Regions from separate parts of the Homo sapiens genome. Here all the other regions are linked to region 3. The links are contacts of gene promoters, found by promoter capture Hi-C in blood cells and fetal thymus (Javierre and others, 2016). All regions are on one chromosome and are shown on one strand. The core of a region is centred on a gene start or on the middle of the fragment in contact, and the rest is flanking DNA. Distances in the headings are between cores, read along the strand shown. Region 1 has its middle 39 kb from the start of TMEM132E-DT. Region 2 has its middle 20 kb from the start of TMEM132E-DT. Region 3 holds the start of CCT6B (chaperonin containing TCP1 subunit 6B).

Region 1 (3,427 bases), core at 167-2,666, 420 kb after region 3:
TCCTCCCTTGGCCATCCTAGTGATGAGGTGAAGAGGCCGTGTACGGCCAACAGAATCCCAGGATCACAAGGTTGTCCGCTCCAGAATGTTCATGTCTCACCTGGCAATTCAATTTGGACCATCCTCTTCCCCGACCTTCCCCCTCATGAACTCCTTCATTGTATAAAAGGGGCAATTGAGGCCCAGAAAGGGAGAGTGATTTCTTCAAGGTCACACAGCAAATTTGAGGCAGGCTTGTTCTCTTTCCACCTGAAAGCAAGGTTTCTGTGCTCTGTGAGCAACAGGCACAAACTGAGCCAGCGTGGGAGGGTGTGTGTGTAGGGGGTCTGGGGAGCTTTCCTGAATTCCCTGTAAGCAGCCACCCCAAGGGGCTAGAGGGGTGGCTGATCATGCTGGGCAAATCCCTCTTCTCTGCTCACCCTTCTGGAATCAGATACACTCTGAAAATTTGCTTTGAAGGAGGAAAAATAATGATAAAGGGGCAGCTTTGGCATAGGTGGAGGGCAAAGTAGGCCAGGGAATGGCTCGAGTGACTTTGTATAGGAGGGGAGAGGGAGCGAGTGGATCGGCAAAAGTAGAAATGGCAAACTCTAATGCCCTCAGGGATTCTGTTGAAGGGGTGACAATGTGGGGGCCATAGTGGGGGCAGGAGAAGGCAGGTCATTGTCTAAATTGTGTGCCGACTGATCTCCTGCTGCTGGGGAAGGAGGCGGCAAAGTTGCAAGATCTTCCAGGTTTTTTTCAAGACAAGCTGAAAACCTGATGTTTATGTGAAATCCAGATTTTCACATGTTGACAACTAATTCAAAAATTTAAAAGCTCTGTATGAATACAATGCATAGACCTTATTTGGATTCAAACAAACCACCTGTAAAAAGACATTTTTGAGACAATTAGGAAAATTTAAATAGACACTAATAAGGAATTATTCTTCATTTTGTTAGGGTGATAATGGTTTTGTGGTTACGGTTTTAAAAAGTCTTTGTCTGCTAGAGAGACACACTGAAGTATTTATGGGTGAGATAATATAATGTCTGGATTTGCTTTAAAATATTTCAGAAACTAAAAGGTGTGTTGGGGATAGATGAGATGAGATTGACAAAATGGTGATAGGGAAGCTGGATGGTATGTATATGCAGGTTAATTATGCTCGTCTTTGCTTTTGGGTATGTTTTAAAAAATCATCACAAAAATAAACACTCTGGGTCGAACAAAACCTGTCAGCGGGCTGGATGTGGCCTCGGATCACCATTTTTCAATCTTTAGTCTAGGCCTTTCTCTCATACATAAGCCACGGAACACCAGCGGGTTAACAAAAACCCTAGAGATCAGGCTGGGTGCGGTGGCTCACGCCTGTAATCCCAGCACTTTGGGAGGCCGAGGCAGGTGGATCTACAGGGTCAAGAGATCAAGACCATCCTGGCTAATGTGGTGAAACGCCATCTCTACTAAAAAATACAAAAATTAGCTGGGCATGGTGGCGGGCGCCTGTAGTCCCAGCTACTCGGGAGGCTGAGGCAGGAGAATCACTTGAACCCGGGAGGTGGAGGTTGCAGTGAGCCGAGATTGTGCCACTGCACTCCAGCCTGGCAACAGAGTGAGACTCCATTTCAAAAAGAAAAGAAAAGAAAAGAAACCCTAGAGATCATATGGGTGAGGGGTTGGCAAACTACAGCCTGGGGCCCAAATCTGGCCTGCCACCTGTTTTTGTCAATAAAGTTTTATTGGAACACAGCCACATCCATTTTGTAATGTATTTGTCTCTGACTGCCTTTGTGCTACAATAGCAGATTTGAGTAAGTGTGATGCAGACTGTATATCTTACAAAGCCTAAAATATTTGCTATCTTACACTTTACAGAAGAAGTCCGCTGACCCTGAGCCAGGTCAACAACCATCTACCTTTAGCATTGAAGTTCTTGTGCCACATCTTCTAAGCCCAGGGTTAAGTTGGAGCTGGAGGGAAGGTGGGTCCTGCTGATGGAAGGGTGCAGGAGACCTGGAGAAACACGACTCTGACGTGGAATGAGAGTAGTTAGGTAGAATGGGAACCGTGAGCGCGTGCACTGGACCCTGCTGACATTCCAGGGAGTGCCAAGGACCACTCCGAGTAAGAGACAGTGTGAGGGCAGGCAGAGAGCTTGGGCTTCAGAGCCAGGAAGGTCTTACGTCCAATCCTGACCTAAACTATGCCTTAGTTTCTTCTTCTGAAAAATGGGAATAAGAAGTGATAAACAGCGCTCCTATGAAGCCGATCATAAGCAGGAGGGGTTTAATAAATAGTAGATATTATTGTTATTATATCCCTGTTGTGCAGTCATTGAGTTTTTGGATCATAAAGACCCAATGTTACTAAACTTTATTGTTAACTGTAGAAATATCCTCTTAATAAAAGGAAATAAGTGCTGATTGTAGAGAATTCACATAACTTTTGTTAAGGGCAAACAAGATGTTTATTGATCTTTTAAGAGAAAACAAAGAAGAAAATTGTATTCTTGTGCATGTAAAAAGGATAAGCCTCTACTTGAGTGAGAAACTAGAGGTTAATATCAAATGCCAACTGTAAATAAGGTTTTACATACAAGCATATTATGAAACTATGTTCCCCATATAATCTGGTTTAGATGGCAGTAGGCAGACTCTGGAAAATGTTACATATGTGTAGATAGGGATGTCATGGTTGACATAGTCTTTCCAGACTTTAGATATGTAAGCATCAGTAACAATGAGAAGGAATACCTGCTGCCCAGGGTTATCTTGGAGATAAATGAGATAACCTATGTAAAGAACCTACATAGTGCTTGGCATACGTTAGGTGTTCAACAAATCTTAATTCTGCCAATCCATCTATCCTCCCATCATCCACTGTTAGTCTGTCTGCTGTTTTCCCTATGCCCAAATGCCCTGCATTTGGCCTACATGCTTAATAGTTAAATAGTTTTGCTGTCTATGTATTCTCTATGCATCTGGGTTTTTTAAGGAAATTTTTTAATTATTATTTTTTAAAATTTTATTTATTTATTTATTTATTTATTTATTTATTTATTTATTTATTTTGAGATGGAGACTCGTTCTGTTGCCCAGCCTGGAATGCAGTGGTGTATTCTTGGCTCACTGCAATCTCTGCTTCCCAGGTTCAAGTCATTCCCCTGCCTCAGCTTCCCCAGTAGCTGGGACTACAGGCATGTGCCACCACGCCCATCTAATTTTTGTATTTTTAGTAGAGACGGGGTTTCACCATGTTGACCAGGCTGGTCTTGAACTCCTGACCTCAGGTGATCCACCCGCCTCAGCCCCCCAAAGTGCTGGGATTACAGGCTTGAGCCACCTCGCCCGGCCTTATTTTTTATTTAAAAATTTTTTTCAGACAAGGTCTTGTTCTGTCGCCTAGGCTGGAGTGACAGATCGTGCAGTGGCATGATGATAGC
Region 2 (3,651 bases), core at 60-2,559, 400 kb after region 3:
ATGTTTCTCGGGCCTTTAATAAGTAAACTGATGTGTGAGCTATGTGAGTTCATGAGTGTTAAATGTCTGTGTGTGCACACTTATGTGTGAGTGTGACATGCTATTTAAAGTATATGCAGTCATGCGTTGCTTAGTGATGAAGATACATTCTGAAACATGTATCATTAGGTGATTTCATTGTTGTGCACACATCATGGAGTGTACTTACAGAAACCTGGATGGTATAGCTTACTACACACCTAGGCTATATAGTATGACCTCTTATTCCTAGGCTACAAACCTGTGCAGCATATTACCATGTTGCATACTGTAGGCAATTTTAACACAGTGGTATTTGTGTATCTAAACATATTCAAACATAGAAAAAAGGTAGGGTATAAATACAGTATAAAAGATAGAGAATGGCACACCTGTATGGAACACTTACCATGAATGGCATGTGGAGGACTGGAAGCTGATCTGGGTAAGTCAATCAGTGAGTGGTGAATGGACTTGAAGGCCTAGGACAGTACTGTACACTACTGTAGACTTTATAAACACTGTACATTTAGGCTACATTAAATTTATTAAAAATATTTTTCTTTCTTCAGTAATAAACTAACCTTAGCTTACTGTAACTTCTTTAGTTTGTAAACTCTTTTTAATTTTTTTTTAACTTTCAGACTCTTGTAATAACAGCTTAAAACACAAATGTTGTATAGCTGTACAAAATATCTTCTTTCTTTATATCCTTAATCTATAAGAGATTTCCTATTTAAAATTTTTTATTTCTTTTGTACTTCATAAAGTTTTTTGTTAAAAGTGAAGACATGAACACACACATTAGCCTGGGCCTACACAGGGTCAGCATGATCAATATCACTGTCTTCCACCTCCACATCTTGTTGCACTGGAAGGTCTTCAGGGGCAATAACATGTATAGAGCTGTCATCTCCTGTGATAATGGTGCTTTCTCCTGGAATTCCTCCTGAAGGACCTGCCTGAGGCTGTTCCTGAGGTAGTGTCACTCTTTTCAGAAACGTATCCATGGTAGTTTGCTTGGTTGTTTTCTTTTTTCATCATAGATTTGCTTGTAAGCAAATAATGCACCATGAACATTCCTCTCTATTAATGCAAACCTTTTGTTGTTAGGGTCTACATTTTCAAACCTTTTAAGGAGCTTGTTGCGGTCTGCAAAAGCTTCTGCTAAACTCCTCACTGTGAATTTTCTTCAGGGTTCTTTTTCTTCTCCTGTACTTTCCCTTTTTCTTGCCTCTTCTTCAGCTATGTGATCCTGTTCCAGTTCCAACAATTCCTCCTTAGTCAATTCTTCATTAACCACCTCTGAGAGCTCCTCAATGTCATCCTCATCCACACCCGGGTTGAAGCTGTTTGCCATTTCAACCACAGCCTTGTTGATTTTTAATCCCCTTATGCTTGGAAAATCCTTTGAAGCTTGGATAAACCTCTTGAGTGTCTTCTTCCAGATGCCATTCATACACTCATTGATGACATCACTTAAGCCCAAGCAAGGTTCACGATGCAAAGATGTAATTTTTCCAGAATTGCGTCAATATCTTCTCAGTGCCTTCCTTAGTTGTAGCAATAGCCTGAACAAAGATCTTCCCTGAGCAGTAGGTCTTACAAGCTGCTATAATTCGTTTCTCCATTGGTTGAATCAAAGAGGTGGTGTTTGGAGACAGAAAGACCACGTTGATATTGAAATGAAGATCACCAATAAAAGAGGGATGTGTGGGAGCATTATCAACAATAAGCAAAATCTTGAAATGTATGTTATTCTCCAAACAGCATTTCTCTATTTTGCTGGCATAGCAACTCAAGGGGGCGTCTTGGAAGAGGAGTTGGGTCATCCATGACTTATTATTGCTCCTGAAGTACACTGGCCATGTGTGCTTATTGATATGCTTGAGGCCCTGGGGTTCTCACTGTCCCAGATCACAAAGGGTTTCAATTTGTGGCCTGCAACATTGTCCCCAAGCAAGATTGTCATCCTGTCCTTAAAAGTCTTGAAATCTGGCATTGACTTGACCTTCTTTAGGATTAAAGTCCTTTCAGGCATCCATTTCCAGAATAGGCAGCTTTCATCCATATTGAAGATTTGCTCTGGCAAGTAATTTTCCTCCACGATCAGATTGCCAGAGTTTTCAAAAATTCTTCAGCTGCCATCACATCAGCACTTGAAAACTCACCACTCACTTTCACAGAATGTAATAAATAATGATTCTTGAATCATTTAATCCACCCGGGGCTAACAGTAAATTCAACATCATAGTTGGGTCCAGCATCTTCTTTCAACATCACGAAATTTTTGCTTTGGCAGTGATCATCACGGTGCTGGGAGGGATAGGCTTCTGTGTCTAGTCTTCAAATCAAGTCATTAGAAATTTCTGTCTATCTGATATGGGCCCTTTTAGAACTTTTGTTAGTATCATTGCCTTCAATGAAGCAGATCCTTTAGCAGCTTCTGTCACTTTGATCTTGTTCTTCAAGATTGTAGCTATGGTGGAATGACACATGCCTGACTGATGAGCAGTAACCATCACTGATTCTCCACCTTCATAGTCCTTAATCACTTTTAATTTTGTTTCCAGGACAATCACTTGATGTGGCCTCTTACTGGCAACATTAGCAGTGGATTTTGTTCACTTTGGGGCTATGATGAACAAAACATTGTGAGGTTAAATCAAGCACAAGAGAAAACAGTGCAATCAAGAAGTGCAGTAAACGAGATATATGAGGCTGCTGCTGGAGTAACACAGCATACTGTTTTACAGTAAACATTTTTTTTAATAAGTAGAAGGTGTACACTCTAACGATAAAAAGCATGGTATAGTAAATAGATAAACCATCAACACAGTCCTTTATTATCATTATCAAATATTATGTACTATACATAATTGTACATGCTAGACTATTATACAATTGGTAGTCCTGTAGGTTTGTTTATAGCAGCATCACTACAAACATGTGAGTAATGGGCTGTGCTACAACATTACATCACTAGGCGATAGGAAATTTTCAGCTCCATTATAATCTTATGGGACCACCCTTGAATATGCAGGCTGTTGTTGATTGAAACAGCATTACGTGGAGGATGACTGTATTTGATTCCTGTTTGAGATCTGGCAGGCTTTCTGTGCATGTACTGGCTCACCTGTAATATTGTTTAATGTGTGATTCTTGGTCTCTGTGTGTTTCAGTGTAAGTCATACAGACATTTGTGGGTGTGATGCCATGTGGACCAAGTGTGTGAGTTACCATGTGAGATGTATAGGCCACTGTGGATGTATTTGTAATGATATGTGAGCTATGTGGTCTGATTGGGTATGTGATACAGTGTGGCTGGTGCGTTTGTGTGTGTGTGTGTGTGTGTGTGTGTGTGTGTGTGTGTGTGTGTGTGTGTGTATGAGAGAGAGAGAGAGAGACAGAGAGAGATCTGGCATGCAGTGTGCTATCTGCACTGTCTGGCTGTGAGTCTGTGGTGTGTATCTGGGTGCTGTGAGTGTGTGTTCACTTGTGCATCTCTGTAGGAACCAGTGAGCTGTGCATATGTGTGTGCGTGCATGTATGTATGTTTGTGTGTCTAGTCATGTCCCTGTACACAGGGTATTGTTGTGTGCAAGCATGTGTATCAGTAGGCAGAGGGCTCTG
Region 3 (3,299 bases), core at 497-2,996:
AGCACACTAAGAGAACTGATTAACCTACAATGACTTATGTGTTTATGAAGTGTTCTAAAAAACCATACAAAAACCAAAGAAACAAGAAAACAAACCTTTTCAACTTGATGTAGGGTTCAGAAGATACATACATTCCAAATACCACAGTAAGCATTCATCTGAAAGTTTGCCGGTTGGTCTTTCTATTAATTAAAAAAATTCAAAACAGAATACAGATTTAACTATGTACAATATTTACAACTTACAGATTTTACAACGAAATTATACAGTTAAGTCTGTCGTGGAAATGTTGGCATTTTGGTATATAACACTTCAGAAATTTCAAAAACAACTTTACCTCAAAAACATGTTACACAAATTTTCCAAAGTGCTGTAGCTCACTGGCTCATTTTATCTCAACAATCCAGTTTAGCAATCCAGGTACCCAAATCTTGAGGCATGAAGTAACCGCTATACTACTGAGAGACAGCACTTTTTATACAACAGCAGAGGCTGTTAGAAACCTTGGGTCTTTAAAACCCTATAACAATGCCCCTTTCACCCTCCAATCCTGAGACAACAAATCCTGTAGTTCCCCCTCATCATCGCTGTCAGCATTCTCTTCTTCCTTTTTCTGCAGTTCTTTTATGGTCAGGATTTCTTTAAGTTTATTTTTTATTTCATCCTGGCGATTCCGTAGCTTTTCCACCCGTCGGTAACACTCTATCTGCTCATCGATCTCCCCAATCTGGCGGTCCAACCGTCCCTCCTCATCCTCTTCGGCAACTATGGCTTCGGAAATAGTGTTGACCTGCCTCATGGCTTTTTGGAATTCGTCCCACTCTTTGTCCATCTGATCTTTTGGAGCATCAACCTTTCGTACTCTTGCATCTACCTCAGGGTCGTCAAAAAAACCTTCCGGTAACGCTTCCGCGGTGTTTTCTCTCCTTTCCACCACTTTTTCATGTATTTCTGCTTTCTCAATTGACCCTGAATGAGGAATTATGGGGGCCTTGGGAGGATTAGTACTAAAGAAATCGTTTGGCAGCACACTACTTGTTACCTCCCGTGAAGAGGAAACTGAGTGCTCCTTGCCCTGTGCGTCGGAGAGCGGCTTGCTGGCGTCCCCCCTTTTTCTTTCTCCATCTCCTTCCTCCTCCTCTTCCTCCTCCTCCTCATCTTCATAATCGGGGAGTAAACTGAGTCCTGAAGGCTTACTGGGAGTCGCTCTAATGAACTCCTTTCCTATTTTGTCAAAGTTGGTGGTCCACGCAGATGTGGAGGGCTGTACCTGAGGCACCAAGGTGGCCTTCGCTCTCTTGACATCTTGGTCGTCTGCGTCCGGCGCTTTCCTCTTGACGGAATGAGGCGCTGAACTGGCGGACGAACCCTGGCTGGCTTCCTTCGCGCCTTTCAGCTCGGCCACTTTCTCTCGGTGCTGCTTTCCCAGGACGTGAGTCTGCCACAGGAGCTCGCTCTTAACCGGAGTGTTACACAGGGCACAACTCAGCTGCCCCAAACGGTTGTACTTCGCGAATGGAGATTCTATCCGTTTCCGACTGGTGCTCAGACGCTGCTTCTCCTTCATTAACCGCCGCAATTCTTCCTGATTTATCACTCGCTTCCCTGCCGGAGTCCGGGCGGAGGCGGAGGACGCCATCTTGGCGACCAGACCCAAAACGATTCTGGTTTCCGTCGGGCGAGGCATGATAACGTCACTTCCTGTAAGGGCGATGATTGGCCGAGGCTCAAGAGAGCGTGGCGTCGCATTGCCGTTTTTGCTCAGAATCGCGACTAAGGCTTTTTTTTTTTCTCCCTCTGAACGGTTAGGCTATGGCTGCGATAAAGGCCGTCAACTCCAAGGCTGAGGTGGCGCGGGCCCGGGCAGCTTTGGCTGTCAATATATGCGCCGCCCGAGGGCTGCAGGATGTGCTGCGGACCAACTTGGGTCCTAAAGGCACCATGAAAATGTGAGACAGCGGTTGGAGCGGCCATTACGCGGCTAGGGGCCCGTTGGTGTCCTGTCGCCCTCTGAGGCAGGCGTCCGCGTAGCGCTGTGGATGTTCTTGCGAGCTTGATTTCCCTCATTCTCATCCCTGCTCTGGGGGTATTTCTCGCCTGGTGCAGGTGGAGGAGAAAAGCCTCCCCTAGTAGAGGGCCCCGGGAGTGAAGCTGTGGCGCTTCCCCGACCCCCGACTTGTCGTCAAGGTTCATATGCAGTTAGAAAGTCAGTTAATTTAGTGTCTCATTGGAAACAAAGCATTTAACTCCTCTGCTCCTTAAGACTGTATACCCTTGGTCCATAAATTCAACAAGTAGTTTTGTTTTTTGTATGGCAATGTATTGTAGTGGAGAGGACACAGGCTTTGGAGCCAGGAAGGCATGGGGTCAAATCCAAGTTCTACTTGAATACCCCGTGTCTATGGTTGTTCAGATCTATTCATCTTTTCAGTATATATTAAGCACCCTTTTCTATAGACAAGAGTGAGGAAAAGAGACCAGTGAGGGCAAAAGGGTATAAGAGGAGAGACACATCCTCATAGTAATGAACAAAATAATATTAATGGTAAAATAAGTCACTTAGGTACCAGTTGTTGGGACACAGAAATGATCAAGATAACGGTTTCTGTTCTTAAGGAGATGTGGTAGAGACGGATGTGGTAGAGTAGGATGTGCTAATTATATATAGATGCATATAATTATGCTGAAGAAAGGGACTGATGGCAGAAGGAAAAGCATCTTAAGTAACATGTTTGATCAGTCTTGAAAGAAGAATAAGACTTCACTAGTTGGAAGAGGGAGTAAAGGCCTGGGCAAAGTAATTTCAGGAATAAGAAAGACCAATGGTGCAAATCCAACAGAAACGAAACAAAACATGGTATATTAAGGGAACCAGAAGATTTGCTTGTGGAAAAGTAGATGAGGCAGGGAAGATATTGGGAAAGGTCAAGTATGTCATTGCTGTGTTTGGATTTTAACTTGAAAATGATGGAAAACATAAAAATCATTGGAGGACTTTTGATCAGGGAACTGACTGAATCACGTTGCCTTTTAGAAAGAAAAATGTGTGGAGGGTATATTTAAGTTTGGAGATATCCGGATGCCATCCAAAGTAGAGATGATAACAGTGGAGATGGAGAGAAGGTGGCAGATTCAAGAGATATTTAGGTAGTAGAATTGATAGAACTTGGTGATCTAATAAATGCAGGGATGAGGGAAACTAAGTTGAGTGACTGAATGAATGAAAACATTCACCAAAATTAAAACCTGCAGGAAATTTGCGAATTTGTGCTTTGTAGACTTCCAAGTATTCTTTGACC

The links. Contacts are between HindIII fragments. The CHiCAGO score rates a contact against its expected background, and 5 or more counts as called.
Region 1: a contact is called between a fragment that was not itself captured here and the fragment with the promoter of CCT6B in region 3, in 4 of 17 cell types (M2 macrophages, activated CD4 T cells, total B cells and 1 more). The highest score is 6.9, in M2 macrophages.
Region 2: a contact is called between a fragment that was not itself captured here and the fragment with the promoter of CCT6B in region 3, in 3 of 17 cell types (M1 macrophages, M0 macrophages and total CD4 T cells). The highest score is 7.1, in M1 macrophages.

Annotation. Positions count from the first base shown.
Region 1 is chr17:34,538,379-34,541,805 of GRCh38, reverse strand. No RefSeq gene overlaps it. Among named protein-coding and RNA genes, the nearest start is that of TMEM132E-DT, 39 kb to the left of the region's middle. The HindIII fragment of the contact is 6,842 bases long and covers 1-3,427 here.
Region 2 is chr17:34,557,238-34,560,888 of GRCh38, reverse strand. No RefSeq gene overlaps it. Among named protein-coding and RNA genes, the nearest start is that of TMEM132E-DT, 20 kb to the left of the region's middle. The HindIII fragment of the contact is 255 bases long and covers 1,182-1,436 here.
Region 3 is chr17:34,959,907-34,963,205 of GRCh38, reverse strand. It overlaps CCT6B (chaperonin containing TCP1 subunit 6B), which reads left to right and starts at 1,746. Exons shown (of 14, transcript NM_006584.4): 1 at 1,746-1,949. The coding sequence starts at 1,813. ZNF830 (zinc finger protein 830) reads right to left here and starts at 1,666. Exons shown (of 1, transcript NM_052857.4): 1 at 1-1,666. The coding sequence starts at 1,639. The coding sequence ends at 521. RefSeq lists enhancers at 1,373-1,622, 1,703-1,782, 1,833-2,052, 2,153-2,202 and a silencer at 1,922-2,216. The HindIII fragment of the contact is 8,368 bases long and covers 1-3,299 here.